Regions from separate parts of the Homo sapiens genome. Here all the other regions are linked to region 5. The links are contacts of gene promoters, found by promoter capture Hi-C in blood cells and fetal thymus (Javierre and others, 2016). All regions are on one chromosome and are shown on one strand. Each heading gives the region's core, a stretch centred on a gene start or on the middle of the fragment in contact. The rest is flanking DNA. Distances are from core to core; before and after follow the strand shown.

The links. Contacts are between HindIII fragments. The CHiCAGO score rates a contact against its expected background, and 5 or more counts as called.
Region 1: a fragment that was not itself captured here is called in contact with the fragment with the promoter of EXPH5 in region 5 in 1 of 17 cell types (naive CD4 T cells); the score reaches 6.3 in naive CD4 T cells.
Region 2: a contact is called between a fragment that was not itself captured here and the fragment with the promoter of EXPH5 in region 5, in 4 of 17 cell types (naive CD8 T cells, total CD4 T cells, non-activated CD4 T cells and 1 more). The highest score is 6.2, in naive CD8 T cells.
Region 3: a contact is called between a fragment that was not itself captured here and the fragment with the promoter of EXPH5 in region 5, in 1 of 17 cell types (naive CD4 T cells). The highest score is 6.0, in naive CD4 T cells.
Region 4: a fragment that was not itself captured here is called in contact with the fragment with the promoter of EXPH5 in region 5 in 1 of 17 cell types (naive CD4 T cells); the score reaches 7.3 in naive CD4 T cells.

Annotation. Positions count from the first base shown.
Region 1 is chr11:108,334,389-108,337,088 of GRCh38, reverse strand. ATM (ATM serine/threonine kinase) reads right to left here. Exons shown (of 63, transcript NM_000051.4): 55 at 1,980-2,120; 56 at 1,128-1,244. It also overlaps a transcript of C11orf65 not described here. Among named protein-coding and RNA genes, the nearest start is that of ATM, 110 kb to the right of the region's middle. The HindIII fragment of the contact is 3,297 bases long and covers 1-2,700 here.
Region 2 is chr11:108,139,729-108,142,428 of GRCh38, reverse strand. ACAT1 (acetyl-CoA acetyltransferase 1) reads right to left here. Exons shown (of 12, transcript NM_000019.4): 7 at 2,214-2,364; 8 at 729-824. Among named protein-coding and RNA genes, the nearest start is that of ACAT1, 20 kb to the right of the region's middle. The HindIII fragment of the contact is 4,039 bases long and covers 1-2,700 here.
Region 3 is chr11:108,211,779-108,214,478 of GRCh38, reverse strand. All of the region lies in intron 1 of NPAT (nuclear protein, coactivator of histone transcription), which reads left to right. Among named protein-coding and RNA genes, the nearest start is that of NPAT, 9.5 kb to the left of the region's middle. The HindIII fragment of the contact is 5,376 bases long and covers 1-2,700 here.
Region 4 is chr11:108,107,311-108,110,010 of GRCh38, reverse strand. CUL5 (cullin 5) reads right to left here. Exons shown (of 19, transcript NM_003478.6): 19 at 2,250-2,700. Among named protein-coding and RNA genes, the nearest start is that of ACAT1, 13 kb to the left of the region's middle. The HindIII fragment of the contact is 1,745 bases long and covers 506-2,250 here.
Region 5 is chr11:108,592,482-108,595,181 of GRCh38, reverse strand. It overlaps EXPH5 (exophilin 5), which reads left to right and starts at 1,414. Exons shown (of 6, transcript NM_015065.3): 1 at 1,414-1,764. The coding sequence starts at 1,646. RefSeq lists silencers at 1,228-1,527, 1,548-1,597, 1,878-1,937. The HindIII fragment of the contact is 3,661 bases long and covers 1-2,700 here.

The sequences.
Region 1 (2,700 bases), core at 46-2,545, 260 kb after region 5:
TCACTCCCCTATTTAGGGCTTTTAATTTAGCCATTATTTTAAAAATAAAACACGTTCATAGTGGAAAACTAGAAATATATAAAAAAGCACATGTCACCCATAGTCCCTGTTACAACATTTATAGAAGGAGAAAGTTTAAAAATGAGGTACAGGAATGAAATCACAAAAGACAAACCTATGGAAAATAGGCCCTTCAAAATAAGGATTTATTGTTATTTCTAAACTGGTTAAATGAATAATTAATATAAGAGTCAAAGATGATCAGCTCATAGAATGTGACTGAGGATTGTCTTCTCAGGCAAATAGCTAGAGGAAATGTAAGTGGGTACACTCCCATTGAGAGTAATTTGGCAATATGTACCAGATTACAGATGCATGTATCCTCTAACCCAGCAATCCAACTTTTGGAAATCCATGCTACAAATTTGCCTGCGCATGTATGAAATTTGTATGTTCAAGGTTATTCACTACAATACAGCGTTGTTTGTAGCAGCAAAAGACTGAAAACAACACAAATGCCCATCGATAAGGACTTGTATAAAAAACTACATACATACACACAATGCAGCTGTTAAAAAATGAGAAAGATTTCTGTGACATATTGTTGAGTAGAAAAAAAAGGAAAAAATACTTCAGTTGACTATAAGAAACACCTAACTATAATTAACATTAATAAATACTTTTTACAAAGAAAATAAATCTTTATTATTTGGTCCTTCACAGAAAACATTTGTAGACTCCTGGTCCAAATAATGGCATCTTCTTCTTCTTCTTCTTTTTTAAACGGGATCTTGCTGTGTTGCTCAGGCTGGACTGGGGCTCACTGCAGAGTTTGAGCTCACTGCAGCCTCAAACTCCTGGACTCAAGTGATCCTCCCACCTCAGCCTCCCATGTAGCTAAGGGACTACAAGCACATGCCATCATCTCTGGCTTTTTTTTTTTTTTTAACTTTTTGTCAAGATGGGGTCTCACTATGTTGCTGAGGCTGGTCTCGAACTCCTGGCCTCAAGCAATCCTCCCACCTTGGCCTCCCAAAGCATTATGAATATGGGCATGAGCCACTTCACCCAACCAAATGGCATCTTTTATATGTTTTTGGTGAACTAACAGAAGTACAAATAGTTACCTTATAAGTACAGATAGTTAATTTCCTCTTCCTAGTTTCCGTGTTTCTCTGCAGTAATGTATTACACATCTGGAAGACCTGTTGCATGACAGCATCTTGTCTCAGGTCATCACGGCCCTTCAGAATAATTAAGCATGAATAAACAAGTACAGTTTATTTTATTATAAAAACACAGAGTCATCTGAGAATAGCAAAGGGCACTCAAACCAATCTGAGCATCTGTGCACCTCTTGACAGTCTCCCAAATAATTAAATACCTACTGCCATTCTTTCATTTAGAATAAGCTACAACATTTACACTGATTTAGAAAGTTTCCCCTCGCTACTTCTGTAATTAGATTAACTGGAAGTCCCCCCTAGGAAGGCATACTGCAAACACCTGAGTAAAACAGCACTGTGTCTTTCCACCACTCCCCAGTAGGACCCAAAGAGCTCGTCAGCAAATGGTAAGGGAAGAATGCTCTCCCTTTTTGGTACATTAAATAGCACTTGGCACAGTACGAGACCCGGTATACTGATGCAAAGGACGTCAACTTGCACTATTCAAGGAAATAAGAGACAGACACCAAAGTATTTTTTTTCATAAGAAGCAACCTCACTGTACATGTCTGTACATGTTAATGGTATTCTTTTACTTGAATCAACCATATAATAATGATTGTCTTTCAGAGACACAAAAAAAATGGAGAAAAGCCTGGTTCTAGAAAATAATGCATTTCTACTCTACAAATCTTCCTCATTTGTAAGTATTCAAAATAAAGACAAAATCCCAAATAAAGCAGAAAGAAAATATGAACTAAAAATTTTCATCACTAAAACTCTAAGGGCTAAGCCAGAGAAGGGAAGGCTCACCTTAACAAGCTGTCTCCTCTCCTTGCCATCGGAACCTACACAATCTATTATTTTTGGTAAATTTACACCTCCTGCTAAGCGAAATTCTGCTTTAAATGACTGTATAGTCACCAGATTTCCATATTCTCCTGTGTGGTCCACCTAATAAAAGTATAAACATGATTGATAATAGGTCAGATACACTATTTGCACTTAAAGAAAAATACATTATAAATGGCAATTTTAATATTAAACAGAGAAACAAATGACGATGTGATAGTGGTTAAGAACTACAACTTTAGGCCGGGTGTGGTGGCTCACGCTCGTAACTTTAACTACTGTTTCATCAAAGATTCACTAATATATGTAAAGTCATCTGAGAAATAACTCCTCACGAAAACATAAAGTAAATTTTGGAAAACAGTAGAAGGAGTTTTCTGGGTTATAACTGCTAAATCTGGCATTTTAAGGAAACATTCAGCGAAATCACCTAGCTGATATAGCTAGAAAAACAGCAGTTAATCCACATGATACAGCTACATTTCAAATCAAGTAACTAGATACTAAGCACTAAACTGCAAAATGAAAAGAAAGACAATGTATTTAAGATGATCATTTTCTAAACTTATAACCCTTATTACATATATCCCTGCCCACATGAAATTACTTCCATTATTTCTTGCAATAAAAGAATATTAGAACAGAGCTAAGTGTATCATGCATATGAAGTCAGCTTAATATT
Region 2 (2,700 bases), core at 178-2,677, 450 kb after region 5:
AAAAATGAGGTTGAAGTCAAAACATTCCTTCACAATAAATGTATTTGGTTCAATTCAACAAATACCTATTGCCTGGGCTGCTAAATGTTTAAAGAAATTACAAATATGGGTGGAGACAATTCCTGCCCTCAGGAAACATGTACACAGCTAACTGCAAGACAATGTAAGAATGCCTTTTTGTGTACATAAAACAGTTTTCTCAAACATCACAAACATGCATGATGGCACTGGATAAATGCTCGTCTACAACTCTTGAAACATAGGGACCAGTTAATATTTTTGTCTCCAGGGTCTAACTTTCCTTATTCAATATATAGCAGGTACTCACTACATATTTTTCAAATCAGATATTTATTCTTATCTAGAATCACCTGGAGATAAATATAAATGAATGTTAAAAACTACCAAACCACTTTAAATAGAAGAATGTTATTATGGTATATAAATTATATCAATAAATCTGTTTTTTTCAATGCCAATGAAGACCCTATCATAGACTGCTACATATGAAAAACTGAATTCTATAGTCATGTTATACATATCTTCCCTGGGATTTATATATTGAAGGTATAAACTACCAAAACAATTTTACATGAGCCTGATATACTGAAAATGTTAAATAACATCTAGATGTTTTCTAGAATTTTTCAAAATCCTTAGGCAATTCTAAGAACTAGATATGGTATACTGGCTCAATTTTTTCTTATGCTTCATTTCTTAACACTAACCATTTTCTTTCTGGAAAACTGTCTTCAGCTTTGGAACTTTGCTAAAATCAACACGTTTATATTCTTCATCTTCTTTCACCACTACATCTGGTTGACCTAAAATAAAAATATTTTAAGTAAAATCGCTCAAAACAAGTAGTCATTCAGCAAGCAACTGTTGTACAAGATGCCTAGTAGTCTGTGCCTCCCTTTGTATCCCTGCTTCACTTAAACCATCCCAAGTAAACACTCATCTAGAATCTGTTAACTATAACCTCTATTATGTTACCATCTTAAAAAGAGAAACTTACAAAGTAGCTTCACAATTTTTTTTTTTTTTTTTTTTTTTTTTGAGGCAGGGTTTCCCTCTCCTGCTTAGGCTGGCATGATCACAGTTTACCTCATCCTCTCCAGGCCCATGTGATCCTCCCACCTCAGCCTCCCAAGTAGCTGGGACTACAGGTGGGAGCCACCACAGCCAGCTAATTTTGTTTGTTTGAAATGGTCTTGCACAGTCTCCCAATAGAGTGCAATGCTACAAACCTAGCTCACTGCAGCCTCGGACTCCTGGGCTCAATTGATCCTCCTGCCTTGGATTCCCTAGTAGCTGGGACTACAGGCGTGTGCTGCTATACCCAGCTAATTTTTAATTTTTTTGTGTGGAGGCCAAGTCTCACTTCGTTGCCCAGGCTGGTCTCAAACTCCTGGGCTCAAGCAATCCTCCCACCTCGGCCTCCCAAAGTGTTGGGATTACAGGTGTGAGCCACTGCACCCAGCCACAAAATTTAAATCTTCTACACCTCCATGTCCCCTTTTCTTCCTCAACTCCCTTCTATGATCACAGACCCCACTCTCCTGACCCCAGAGGCAGCTGTCTGACCTACACTAGATAAGCTCTAGTATTCTGTCACCTAGAGCACAGTAATCATTCCTGGAATAGAATTGTAACCTAAAGCAAGTTAATGAGTCTTCATTGTGGATTTATTCTGCTGGAACTGGTGAGAAAGTCTCTCCTTTTTGAGAACCCTATATATGTGACCCTAGAGGTAGAGGCAGCAACTTTAGAAAGGCTGAGAGAATAAAGCACAAAAGCCTGCAGGTGTGAGAAGCCAAGAGAGCATGTCTTAGTAGTAGTGAACACCCAGTTCCAATCCCTGAAGTTCCCAGAGCTGAATGGTTGCTACTGTTCATCCTTCAGTTCTTGGAGGCACTCCCGGTAACCTTCTAGTAAATCCCTTTTCAATTTAAAATACCGTATTGACTGTCACAGGAAAAAGTTCTAATAAATTTCTCAAATTTAAAGTAATACTCAGGGATCTTATAAATGGATTGAAATCTGACATTAAGTTGGGTAGATTTATATTCTCTCTGAACTGGCAACTCTTCACTTTTTATTAACCATAAGCAGTTGAAATGAACCAAGATAATGTCCTAATTTAAAACTTAAGCATAAAACATTCAGCAACATGAAAAGTCTATTCATCCTTTTTGGAACATTATCTCTACCTTTTACTGTAACTGTGACAGGAATAACTTCATTTCCAAATTTCCCAGCTTCCCATGCTGCTTTACTTCTGGTATAAGAATTAATAGCATAAGCGTCCTGTTCATTTCGTGCAATATTCAGCTTCTTTGCTGTATTCTCAGCACAGCTGCCCTGATAAAAAGTTGAAATATTTTAAAGTTAACTTTGCATAATTTAGAAAATATCTATTAACTTTGCCTAACTTATAGTGTTTAATAGTTAACGTTTCTTAAAATATATTTCTTAGGCCGGAGGTGGTGGCTCATGCCTGTAATCCCAGCACTTTGGGGGGCCAAGGCAGGCAGATCATGAGGTCAGGAGATCAAGACCATCCTGGCCAACATGGTGAAACCCCGTCTCTACTAAAAATTAGCCGGGCATGGGGGCACGTGCCTGTAGTCCCAGCTACTCGGGAGCCTGAGGCAGGAGAATTGCTTGAGCCCAGGAGGCGGAGGCTGCAGTGAGCTA
Region 3 (2,700 bases), core at 50-2,549, 380 kb after region 5:
CTTATACTATTAAGTCACTTCCAATTCCCCCTTGCCCCGTCCTCTGCCAACCACAAATCTACTTTCTGTATCTATACATGTGCCTTGCCTGGACATTGCACATAAATGAAATAGAATATTTCGCTTTTTGTGTCTGACTTTCACATAGCATAATGTTTTCAGCCTTATTCCATGTTGTAGCAGGTATTAGTACTTCATTCCTTTTTATAGCTGAATATTTCATTATATGAATATGCCATATTTTGTTTGTCCATTCATTAATGGACACTGTTATGAAAAATGCAGGCCAGCTGTAATGGCTCACCCTGTAATCCCAACACTTTGGGAGGCCAAGGCAGGAGGATTGCTTGAAGCCAGGGGAGCGAGACCAGCCTGGGCAGCATACTGAGACACCCCATCTGTACCAATAAGTAAGTAATTAGCTGGGCATTTATTTGGTGGTACATGCCTCTAGTCCTAGCTACTGGGTTGGCTGAAGTGGGAGGATCACTTCAGCCCAGGAGTTCAAGGTTATAGTGAGCTATGATTGAGCCACTCTACTTCAGCCTGGGTGACAGAGCAAGACTCTGTCTCTGAAAAAAAATAAACTGACCATAAATGTCTGGATTCCATGCTTCAGAGTTGACTAGATAAATAAGAAAGGTCTGGATTTTTTATTTTGTTCCACTAATTTCTGTGTCTAACCTCATGCCCGTACATCGTCTGGATTACTGTAGCTTTACAGTAAGTTTTGAAATTGGTAAGTGTAAGTGCTTCAACTTTTTCTTCATTTTCAAGATTATTTTGGCTATTCCAGCCCCCTTGTATTACCTTAGGAGTTTTAGGATGTTTGTCAATTTCTGCACAAAAGGCAGTTGAGATTATGATAGGAATTGTGTTGAATGTATCGGTGAATTTTGGGAGTATTGAGTTTTTAACAATATTGAACCTTTCAGTCCATGAACACAGTATGTCTTTGCGTGGATTTAGGTCTTTAATTTCCTCCAGTGACGTTTTCCAGTTTTTAGTATGCAAGTCCTTTACTTTTGTTAAACTTATTCCTAAGTATTTTATTTCTTTTGATGCTATTGTAACTAGCATTGCATTCTTAATTTTTGGTAGTTCATTGAGATTTATTGACTTTTATATATTCACTGTGTATCCTGCAACCTTGTCGAAGTCATTTATTAGCTCTAATAGTTTTTGTTTTGTTTCGTTTTGTTTTTGGGACAGAGTTTCGCTCTTGTTGCCCAGGCTGGAGTGCAATGGCGCAATCTTGGCTCACCACAACCTCTGCCTCCCGGGTTCAAGCGATTCTCCTGCCTCAGCCTCTGGAATAGCTGGGATTACAGGCATGCATCACCTTGCCCAGCTAACTTTGTATTTTTAGTAGCACCAGGGTTTCTCCATGTTGGTCAGGCTGGTCTCGAACTCCCGACCTCAGGTGATTTGCTGGCCTTGGCCTCCCAAAGTGCTGGATTATAGGCATGAGCCACCATGCCCCGCCCAGGGAGGTTTCTTAACTCCTTTTTTTTTTTTTTTTTTTTTTTTTTTGAGACAGAGTCTTGCTCTGTTGCCCAGGCTGGAGTGCAATGGCACCATCTCGGCTCATTGCAACCTCCACCTCCCTGGTTCAAGTGATTCCCCTGCCTCAGCCTCCCTAGCAGCTGGGATTAAGGTGGACACCACCATGCCTGGCTCATTTTTTTGTATTTTTAGTAGAGACGGGGTTTCACCATGTTGGCCAGACTGGTCTCGAACTCCTGACCTCAGGCAATCTGCCTGCCTTGGCCTCCCAGAGTGCTGGGATTATAGGTATGAGCCGTGGTGCCTGGCCTCTAATAGTTTTTTTGTTGTTGTTGTTGTTGTTTTTTATGGCTTCCTTAGGATTTTCTATATAAGACATGTCATCTGCAAATAGGGGTAATCTTGATTTTTTCCTTTCCAATCTGGATGCTTTTTTTTTTTTTCTTTTGAGACGGAGTCTCTCTCTGTTGCCCAGGCTAGAGTGCAGTGGCCCTATCTCAGCTCACTGCAACCTCCACCTCCCGGATTCAAGCAATTCTCCTGCCTCTGCCTCCTGAGTAGTTGGCATTACAGGCATGCACCACCACACCTGGCTAATTTTTGTATTTTTAGTAGAGACGGGGTTTCACCATGTTGAGCAGGCTGGTCTGGAACTCCTGACCTCAAATGATCCGCCCAGCTCGGCCTCCCAAAGTGCTGGGATTACAGGTGTGAGCCACTGCACCCGGCCTGGATGCTTTTTATTTCAAGTTTTTTCCTAATTGCCCTGGCTAGAGGATACATGCAATGTTGAATAGAAATGACAAGAACAGACCTTCTTACCTTTTCCCTGATCTTATGGGGAAAGGTTTGAATTTTAAACCATTGAAGATGATGTTACTTGGCTTTTTTTTTTTTTAATAGATAACTCTATGAGGTTGAGGAAATTTCTTTTTATTTCTAGTGTTTTTATCATGAAAGGGTGTTGGATTTTGTTTTTTTTGGTTTCTTTGGTAGAGTTTTGTTTTGTTTTGTTTTGCTTTTGAAACAGGTTCTTACTCTGTCATCCAGGCTGGACTGCAGTGGCATGATTATGGCCCACTGCAGCCTCAGCCTCCCAGACTAAAACTATCCTTCTACCTCACCCTCCCAAGTAACTGGAACTATAGGCACATGCCACCATACCCAGCTAAATTTTTAATTTTTTGCAGAGAT
Region 4 (2,700 bases), core at 129-2,628, 490 kb after region 5:
GGTGGCTCATGCCTGTAATCCCAGCACTCCTGGATGCCAAGGGAGGAGGACTGCTCGAACTCAGGAGTTCGAAACCAGCCTGGGCAACATAGTGAGACCTCCTCTCCGCAAATAAAAAAAAAATTACCTAGGCAAATAAAAAAAAAATTACCTAGGTGGTGTGTGCCTGTGGTCCCAGCTACTCAGGAGGCTAAAGTGGGAGGATCACTGGAGCCCAGGAGTTCAAGGCTGCAATGATCTGCAATTGTGCCACTGCACTCCAGCCTAGGTGACAGAAACTCTATCTCAAAAAAAAAAAAAAAAAAAAAAAAAGAACTAAAACATTGAACTATATTCTCAGGCACATGTGCTATCATTCATTCAGTCCTACTATGTGCCCTTTTTACACTGAGGTTTAACAGGGCTGAATCCAACTTGATATTTTGAGGACCCTCTTTAAGAAAATACAAAACTTGTAGGGCTCCCCCTCCCAGAGCCTTGTACAAGGGGCCCAAAAGCTTAAGCTTATTTCTTGGTTTAAATGAAATCTGTTTCTTGGTTCAGATGAAATTTTATACTGAGAAAATACCTTCTCTAGCTTCATTTCCAAGTCAACTCCTCCCCCAACCCCAAACTCCCAAATGCCAGTTTAAGTCCAAGGTTGAGTTTAGAGTCGTTATGAAGTCAAATGTGTTCCTCCATCCAGTTGTCCAAAACATTTATTGACTACTACAGTAGGAACAAGAAATGATCCCTCAATGTAAAGGAGCTCTATAACATTTATTTATGAATCAATGAATGAATTAGTCTGGCCCTGTTGCCCAGGCTGGAGCGCAGTGGTGCGATCTCAGCTTGCTACAACCTCCACCTCCCAGGCTCAAGTGATTCTCATGCCTCAGCCTCCTGAGTAGCTGGGATTACAGGTATGTATTTTTAGTAGAGATGGGGTATTGCCATGTTGGCCAGGCTGTTCTTGAACTCCTGACCTCAAGTGATCTGCCCACCTCACCTTCTCAAAGTGCTGGGATTACAGGTGTGAGCCACTGCGCCCAGCCTGAAATTTCTTTTAAATTTAGTTCCTCTGGGTAATTAAGTCCCTGTATGCAATTCAAGTTTCTTATAGTCAAGAGTTTTTTCGATTATTAAATTGTTCACTTGATCAGTAACTAATTGCTATTATCTGTCCAGTTTCACAACCTTATTGCCAAACTATTTCTAGCTTAAAAATAAGTATTTCAGGCCAGACGCGATGGCTCACACCTGTAATCCCAGCACTTTGGGAGGCCGAGGCAGCTAGATCACGAGGTCAGGAGATTGAGACCATCCTGGCTAACATGGTGAAACCCTGTCTCCACTAAAACTGCAAAAAATTAGCCAGGTGTGGTGGCAGGCGCCTGTAGTCCCAGCTACTCGGGAGGCTGACGCAGGAGAATGGCATGAACCCAGGAGATGGAGCTTACAGCGAGCCGAGATCGCGCCACTGCACTCCAGCCTGGGTGACAAAGTGAGACTCTGTCTCAAAAAATAAAAATAAAAACAAAAATAAGTATTTCACAAATTTTCAAATATATCCAAAATGTGAAATGATTATGTTTTACATTTTTTACTTTTTTTTTTTTTTTTTTTTTTTTTTTGAGACAGTCTCATTCTGTCGCCCAGGCTGGAGTGCAGTGGCACAATCTTGGTTCACTGCAACCTCCGCCTCCCGGGTTCAAGCGATTCTCCTGCCTTAGCCTTCCGAGTAGCTGGGACTACAGGCGCGCGCTACTACACCCGGCTAATTTTTATATTTTTAGTAGAGACAGGGTTTCACCATGTTTGCCAGGCTGGTCTTGAACTCCTGTCCTCAGGTGATCCACCCACCTTGGCCTCCCAAAGTGCTGGGATTACAGGCGTGAGCCACTGAGCCCGGCCCATTTTTTACTTTTATCTGCTATAAAATTTGAATTTTGTTATGACATAGCCTATCTTAGTTGATGAATATATTAACCACTTTCAGGTTGGAATTTTTTTTTTTTTATTACCTCTTCCAGGCATATAGCCACATGCTATCATCAGTGGAAAAGCTACATTCCTGACTGCTCTCATTTTGAATTAGAATTTGAAGTCTAATATAAATAAGTGGGTTACTTTTCATATTTCTGATTCCTAAGGCTGGCTGAGATTAATTTACCTTCAAATTTAAAAATATACCTACTATAAAAATTTTAATTAAACTCTTTGTAACTATTTTATAGTAGAACATCAACATTTTCTGGATAGGTAAAAGCTTTTATATTACATTTTTATTTTGCAAGAAAATAAATTATACAACTTAAAAAATAAAATCCAAAAATTAAGCAGTTCATCAAAATATTTCAGCCTACTGCATACAGAAACTGCTACCACTTAAAATTGTACAGCATTATCATCTCAGTATGTAGTGGCACACATTCAAAATCGTATAGACCATATGAGGATAGATTACAACTTAGAAACTAAAATAAATTTGTTCAACACTCCAGACAACATATAGTGTAGATGACAGGAAAGCTCTCATGTAATGTTTATTTCACAAACATGACCTTGGAAGAATTCATAAGACAGCATCCCAGTCACTTACATGAGAACAGAAAAACCAGCTTGAGTTTAAGATAGCAAATCTTTCTGTAAAACTAGCAAATCTTTCACCCAGACTGAAGTTTTAAAATTTGCCCTTTGAGCAGTGCTAGAGACATCTTA
Region 5 (2,700 bases), core at 165-2,664:
CCTTCATGTAATAGGCACCAGGATACGTTGGTTGAAATCAGTTCACTGATATACTGGAAACAGTGTAAAATCCCACCAGTGACCATATTGAAAAGTCCCATGTGTATGCTGAATAAATGAACACACTAGAAAAACTGGACACCATATACAAGACATACTCCCAAAACAGGATCATTAATACAGACACTATTTATAAAGGAGTTCTGTATTGTGTACACCATGGGTGAACAAAATTGGTTCCTGGTTCACACAAATAACAGACACCCACAGAAAGTTATCTGAATGGCTAGCTGCCTAGGCATGTTTTAAATAATGATGATCAAATGGGGTAGCCCAGAGAACAAAACACAAGTGGCAATTTTTGATATCATGTTCTTGTACAGATACAAAATTTTAATTGGGTTTATGTGCCATGAAAAGAAATGATATATGTAGAAGTACATTTTATATGTTAGTAATCATCACCACCATCTTCAAAATGACCAAATTAAGGCTATGGGGCAGGAAAGTCAATCTGACAGAGTTATTTTTGGGTAGGAAGTGAAGCCAAGATAAAAACATGTTTTCTGTAAAAGCCTTGATAATTAAAAAAAAAGTATATATGTGAATATCTTTATAAGTTTCTATTATTCTTCATTGCATTGTGGAACAATTGACTTTCTAGGAAAGCTATTTCTGTGGCTTCATAGGATTACCATTTGCTTTCACCAGAGGATTAGGTATTTTTAAATGGCATGTGTATTACTTCTCTGAGTTTATTAAGATGATAATAAAATCTTACAGAAAACTTCTAACAGGTGTTTTCTACAGTCCTTTGCTTCTGGGCTGTCTTCTCCTAAAATACCATAAACGGTTTTGTTTGTTTGTTTGTTTGTTTCTAAAGTCTAAGAATGACTTTTGTGGGACAGTGGAGGTGGGGGTGTCTGTGGGATGAGAGGCTTGGCAAATAATTCGTTTCCAAGGATACACTAATTTCCGCCCTTCAGCCAGGTTCATCCACAGTCAGTAGTGTAATTGAGTTTAGTTCTTCCTGGTCTTTCAGATAAGTAACCCTTTTGCCAGTTACAAACCCTACTTGCAATTCTATTTTCTATGGGCTCTTAATTATTGAAAGGGAGGATTAGTCATGAATCTCCTTTTTCACTCCTTTACTAATCAAGCTCAAGTTCTGCGAGCAAACAGCAACAGCAAAAGCAAATACTTTGGCGCCAACACTTAGCCTTGCCTCACTTAAGAGGCAGAATTATGTAGGCTTGTTTGCTTAACAACTCAGATAGGGGGCGGGGAGGGTGACCGGAGGGGACGAGGGAGGGGACGAGGGACGGGACGAGACGAGGGAGGGGACGAGGGAGGGGACAAGGGAGGGCCCGCCCCCTTGGAACGGGATTGGTTCCCTCTCTCCCTTTAGCCGTTCACTTTGCATCTCGGTTGGACAGGTTGAGAGAAACATGTCATTAAGGTATTGTCAATATGAGCCCTTCAGGTGTGGGCGTTCCCTAGGTTTGTGGTTTTAGACTTTCAAAGGGGCGGACTTATTATTGGCTGTGGGATCAAGTTCGTGAAACTGGTCTTGTACAGGTTGAAAAATGCCTTCCTAACAGGAGGCGCCAAGGAGCTTAAGTGTAACTCACACACAGTAAAGAAAATGACGAAAGTTCCTCCGGCGTTTGATTTCAGTTTCTTAAATGACGAAGAGGCCAGGAAGATCCTTCAGGTGCTGGAAAGGAATGAGGAGTTACAGAGGGCCGAGAAGGACAGGATCAGGTACAGAGCAAATTCATTTCTTTTGTCCTGGGCCTGGGTCCCGCAGGGGCCGGGGATCCGCGGGGAAGGCGCTGAGCTCGCGCGGGGCACCTGCCCGGGGGTGCTCCGAGCGGCTGCTGCGGAGGCTGCGGGTCGGGAAGAGAAAACTGCGCGGAGTTGCTCCCTGAAGGACTTTGGGATGCTTAGTTGGTACCCTCTCCACCCACCACATACCAGACGGGCTCGGCTGCGGGTCTGGGGTCGGGCAGGGTGGGGGGGTCCGTGCGCTGCGGGGGCCGCGCAGTGACGCTGTGCTGTGCCGGGTGTCTGCTGGGCCATCGCGGGGCGTGGGCCGTTTCAGGCAATGAAATGCGGCGGGGGCGCGATCTGGAGAGGAATCCTGGCTGCTGCTCACTCCGCGGCCCGCGCGCACCCACGTGCTCGCACGGGTCCGACAGAGCTTCCACCCTCGCCTAACGCAGTTTTCCCTCGGCACCAGAGGCGAATCTCCCCACCCAATGCGGGCAGTCAGCGAAGCACGGGAGAGCCGGCACCTCACGGGAGGCGAAAGGTCCCCACCCCAAGGGTAGGAGCTCGAGGAATTTGTCAAATAGAGGCTTATGTGGGCGAATGGGACTTGGACACACGGGGTTGGCTGGAATGGGTGGGTCTTCTTGTGCGTGGTGCTGTGGGGAGCGAGTTTCTGAGAAATTTCATCCTTGACCTTACTATACACTGTTGTAGGTGAGGGATTAGTTACTAAAGAATGAAATCCAGAGACACAGATAATTACCCAGGATGTACATTAACCAGTTTTTCTGCTGGGGAAGTGTGGGATAAGTGCTGGAATGAATTAAAGGGACTCTCTCGCCAATATTGGAATATATCCATCTAAGTCCTTCTCTAGATAACTGTGGAAGGGAATTCAGGACATCACTCTCAGACCACACTGTGTGC